Linked DNA regions of Homo sapiens: region 1 is linked to region 2. Evidence: promoter capture Hi-C in 16 types of primary human blood cells and fetal thymus (Javierre and others, 2016). All regions are on one chromosome and are shown on one strand. The core of a region is centred on a gene start or on the middle of the fragment in contact, and the rest is flanking DNA. Distances in the headings are between cores, read along the strand shown. Region 1 overlaps CFAP20DC-DT (CFAP20DC divergent transcript). Region 2 holds the start of CFAP20DC-AS1 (CFAP20DC antisense RNA 1).

Evidence for each region. The method cuts DNA at HindIII sites, captures the fragments that hold promoters and counts their contacts. A CHiCAGO score of 5 or more calls a contact.
Region 1: a contact is called between a fragment that was not itself captured here and the fragment with the promoter of CFAP20DC-AS1 in region 2, in 1 of 17 cell types (naive B cells). The highest score is 5.1, in naive B cells.

Annotation. Positions count from the first base shown.
Region 1 is chr3:59,569,407-59,572,106 of GRCh38, forward strand. All of the region lies in intron 6 of CFAP20DC-DT (CFAP20DC divergent transcript), which reads left to right. Among named protein-coding and RNA genes, the nearest start is that of CFAP20DC-DT, 480 kb to the left of the region's middle. The HindIII fragment of the contact is 3,038 bases long and covers 1-2,700 here.
Region 2 is chr3:58,823,171-58,825,870 of GRCh38, forward strand. It overlaps CFAP20DC-AS1 (CFAP20DC antisense RNA 1), which reads left to right and starts at 1,301. Exons shown (of 3, transcript NR_110820.1): 1 at 1,301-1,405. All of the region lies in intron 14 of CFAP20DC (CFAP20 domain containing), which reads right to left. The HindIII fragment of the contact is 7,858 bases long and covers 1-2,700 here.

The DNA of each region.
Region 1 (2,700 bases), core at 184-2,683, 750 kb after region 2:
GCTGCTTTAGTTTCACAAGCGCAGTCAGGCTTCCTCTATCCACAGGGATTTTCAAGCCAGCCCTAGCAGTCATGCAGTTTTTCCTTCCTTTTCTTATTTACTGTTCTACTCTATCATTTTTATTATGAAAGTCCGACTCCCTCCTTTAAGAAGACAAAGGATGGAGTGGTGTATTTTATAAGGAAATGCTCGCTGTTTCTTCCTTCCCTCTAATCACTGCTGCCCTTCCACAGGTAACCAAGGGCAGTAGCTGGGTGTGGATTGCCAGCCTATACATTTCCTTTTCCCCACTTCCCTACATCCAACCCATCTCAAAGCTCTTTAATTCTATCTTTAAAATGTTTTTCAAAGCAGTGCATTTCTTTCCTTCTTTCCTAGTCATTGTCACCCATTAGGTGTATTTATTTCCTAGGGCTGCTGGAAGGAAGCACCACAAATTGGGTGACTTAAAGCAACAGGATTATATTATCTCACCATTCTGGAGGCTAGAAATCTGAAAATCAAATGGTCAGTAGGGCCAGGCTCCCTCTGAAACCTGCAAGGGTGTCCTTCCTTGCCTCTTCCTGGCTTCTGGAGGTCTCTGGCCTTACTTGGCCTTACTTGGCTTGCAGCTGCAGCACGCCACACTCTGCCTTTATGCCATCTGGGGTTGTCCCTGTGTGCCTGTCTTCACATGCCTGCCTTTTTATAAGGACACCAGGCATTTGTTGGACCCTACTCCAGTATGACCTCATCTTAACAAATTATATCTGTAATGGACCCTATTTCCAAATAAGGTCACATTCCAAGGAGTAGGGGGTTAGGGCTTCAACACATTTTGGCGGGGGAGGAGGGGACACAATCGAACCCATAGCACAAGGCTACAGTGGACTAGCCTCTTACTTTCTCAGAGTAGAACCTGCCCAGCAGCCAGAAGAGTTCCTTCAATTTCATGGAGATCCAGGCACTCTTCTCCTTAAAACCCACCCTTACAAGGCTTCCGTTGTACCTAAGGTAAAATCCAAGCTCCTGATACAGTTGACAAGGCTTTTTTATCTGGATCCCGCTCAGCTGTGCTGCTCAAAGCCTTTACCTGTAGCCCCTCTCCCTTCATTCAGCCCCCTCGCCCTCCTCCCTCACGCTCCTCATTCTTTGCTGAGTTAGCCCTGCTCCTCCATCACATCATATTTTGAATGCTTCTCCTTCCTGGTGGCCTTCCCTGACCCCTCCAAAATCTTGGCCGTATGTACGCAGCCTTTTTTTCCTCTCTCACTCTCCTACGTGCTTATCTCACCTGTACTGATGTCATCCTCAGGGCATTTGTTTAATGTCTGTCTTAAACAAGTGTTGACGAACTAGGGCTAATGGGCCAAATTTGGCCTGTGGTCTATTTTTGAAAGACCCTTGATATGAGAATGGTTTTTTATATTTTTTAGTGTTGTTAAAAACAAGCATACAAAAAATACAAAGAAAATATGCTTCAGAGACTGCAAGTGGCCTGCAAAGCCTTAAATATTTATGCTCTGGCTCTTTATAGAAATGTGTGATGATCCCTGGTCTTACCTACTATCAACTCCCTGGGAGCCAGAATCTTGTCTGTTTTATTTGCTGCTGTGTCTGGAAAATCTTGCAAGGGGTCTGGCACTTACTAAGATCCTTGCTAGATATACAGTTGTGAAGTGAATGAGTTATTCAATGAATGGTTGGTTCTCAGTGACTGTTGATTTAGGAGAAACCAATCTTTTCGTAACAGCCAGAGAGACTTCTCTGGTAGTATGTATGGATTTTGATAATCTGGCAATTCAGTCATTTAATAAATAGTGAGGACCAGTGACATTTTAGACATTAGTTGAGTAACCAGGGAGGGAGACTGAGCTCTTCTCTTGGGAAACTCATCTGAAGAAGAGATGCAAAATGTGATGAAGGGATTTAACCAGGGCATCACTTGTGAAAGAGAAATTTAAACAGTGTATTCCTGGAGGCTGGGTGTGATGGTTCACACCTGTAATCCCAGCACTTTGGGAGGCCAAGGAGGGTGGATCATGAGGTCAGAAGTTCGAGACCAGCCTGGCCAATATGGTGAAACCCCATCTCTACTAAAAATACAAAAATTGGCTGGGCATGGTGGCTCACGCCTGTAATCCCAGCACTTTGGGAGGCCAAGGTGGGTAGATCATGAGGTCAGGAGTTTGAGACCAGCCTGCCCAATATGGTGAAACCCCATCTCTACTAAAAATACAAAAATTAGCTGGGCATGGTGGCATGCATCTGTAGTCCCAGTTACTTGGGAGGCTGAGGCCAAAGAATCGCTTGAACCCAGGAGGCACAGGTTGCAGTGAGTCAAGATTGCTCCAAGGCACTCCAGCCTGGGCAACAGAGTGAGACTCCGTCTCAAACAAACAAACAAACAAAAAACAAGTGGATTTCTGAAGGTTCAGTTCCTCCTTGGTGGTAGGGAAGAGAAGAAGGGGATGCTGTCATCTAATTTTATATTATCAATACACAAACACTGTTCTCCTAGAGACAAATTTTCCCCAGATGGGCTGGTTGTTGCTTTGCCTCTGGTCCAAACAGGACCATCTCTCATGAGTCATTCTCACTTTGTTGCCCTCAAAGTGCAGGTAGTTGTGGAAAAAAACAAAACTTTAAGCATCCTCAACTCCAGCCTAAATGAGAAAGCTGTTGTCCTGTGCAGCCTATGGAAACTCTTGAGGAATGAAC
Region 2 (2,700 bases), core at 51-2,550:
TGTATGTTTTTCTTTTGCTAATCTGTCTTTTGTTGCAACAGAGGCCTTGGCGATGAATCCAGGGTGGGTGAGAAAAAGATATTTTTCCTCCCCTACAATATGCTTATAAACATATGTAGCAGTAAACCTATTTCTAGGTAGGTAGCATCCTGTGAAAGCACCAATGAAATAATATAGAATTTGTTTTGATTTTGGCATTCAGTCATACCTAGAGAATATCGTAAGTAGATGCAAAGGGATGACAACCAGTATCTACAATGAACTACGACCATCATCATAATAGCGGCGATTGACATTTATTGAGTACTTATGCTAATTCTTGGTAGATATGATCTTATTTGATCCTCAGAGCAATTCTATGAAATAAATAGGATGAACAACTACATTCAACAGAAGAGGAAATTGACACTGGGTATTAACCCAGGATCGTGCCTGCCAGGAAAGAGTGGAGCTAGAATGTGAACCCAGGCAGTCTGAGTCCACAGCTTACCCTCTCAACCACTAGTCTGTAGTGTTTATTCCAGCTCGAGAGTGCATCTAGAGTGGTGACTATTTAAGTTTTTGAATAACAAAATGACAAAATCAGTTCTGTTTGTGGCAGGAAAAAAAAGTGACCCTGAAGAAATACATTTATTTGAAATATATATGACTATCTCCTTACCATAAATTAATTTCATTGTTTTCATTCTCATGACATGTCACTATGTATTTACAATTTAAAAAATCAGTTTTGCCACGTTACTAAATTTGGGACAATCATAAAATGTAATAGACAGTACTCTGAGAATAAGAAAAGTTTATTTCCTGGGGTGACTTTCATAGTCACTAAACACAGAACAACTTGCACATTTCAATATTTCCTCCTGACAGTACAGATACTGTCTCTATTGTCACTATTACACTGACTCTAATATCAGTTTTCGTATATCATTTCTATAGTTGTATAAGAACATCTGCTCATATGATTTATCTGCAGCTTAGCACAATCAACTGCATACCTTTTTAGTTCAGGAGGATTAAAAGAAAACTCATTCTACCCAAAGAGAGCTGAGAAGTTAATGAATCTGTAGATCAGAACAAATTAAAACCTATTAATTATAAGGAGTCTGAAATGCCAATATATTATATTTTGAATACACAGCAACCAGGAATATCATGCAAAAACGCTGATATGCTGTGGAGCAAAGAAATGGAACAGATCCCAGAAACTCAGGACCTCGGCCTTTTGGTGGCGCTGTTGCTATGTGCTAGTGCCAGGAAAACAGTATTCATATATAATTAACTACCACGGAGCACAAGCAGCTTTGCTTTTCCATGATCAAGCTGCTAGAGATTTTGGGGTGAGGGAGCGAAATGAAGGCTAAATAAAAGAACCGGAGATAAGATAATCCTGCCATGTTAAAAGGTAAAGATAATATTTTTATGTTGTTATGTAAAACCTATGAAAATGGCGATAATGTTGCAAGGTTAATCAAGACCATAAATAACTTGTCTGAGAACCTCACCATATGCCTGCAGTTTTATTAAGTGTATTTTGCCTCGTTATTCTCCGAATATTATGCTCTGCAACATGCCATGTTGATGGATGCATGCAATGAGCTTTTCTTTTCTTTTTTGTAAGCTAAAGAGACTTATGTGCTTGATATTAGGTATGGGAATTCTTTTTTTTTTTTTTAAGAGATGGGGTCTCATTGTGTTACCCACACTGGCCTTGAATTCCTGGGCTAAAATCCTCCTGCCTTAGCCTCCCAATTAGCTGGGAATACAGACCTGTGCCACCATGCCCCCGTTCAGGTTATGTTAATTATTAACCTGAAGGAATGACAGCTTTGGGGCATCTGCTCACAGGGTAGCTGCACAATAAACCTACTTTTCTTGAATCTACATTTGAGGAGAGACAGTGAAATGAAATATTGAAATAATGAGATAATGAAGGAGTTTATTTGGAAGGATCTGAGGGAGTCAGTCTGTATGCTGATGGTTAAACTCACATCAAAACAAACACTACAGAATCTCTGCTTACTCTTTCAGGTCTCAGTCGTCATAAAAAGGGAAAATGTCCTAGAAATTCTGTTCTGATCACTCAAGTGGCCCTTTGAGGAGAATAACCTTGGGGAAACAGCAGTTGACAGTCAGTGTGAGCTTACTCTGCTAAGCACCAGGCACATGCATTTCATGTACTCATTCGATTTGCATAATGCCAATATTAGGAAGGTTCTTTTATTATTTCCATTTCAAAGATGATCATGTCCATAAATGGCAGAGCTGGAATTTGAGCCCAGGTTGACTGATCTAGAGTTTATATTTGTTTGGGCATCCCATGAAGCAGTGTCCATTGATAGCTGTTCCTGTTCCTTAAAAAAAGAAAACACACACACACACACACAACATGGCTTTATGCTATTGTCAATCAAAATCCCTCACCAAGATAAAATTCACTTAAAATTCATTATAACTAACTCCTAGTGCCCTTCCAAAGGCTGCCGAGAGCCCAGTTTTTGAATAAATCTCACGAGGGCTACTCCTAACAGAAACTCTCCAAAATTGATTGATTGTAGCCTGGTTTCCACAGAAGTTGTAAAGTATTGTTTTAATTGAATTTGGTTCTAAGTTAGAAACTTTGAAAAATTTGTCTGTCAAAGGCCAATGGATTTCTCAGTAGGCTTGATTTATTTAGCAAGAGATGCCTACAAAAGCCAA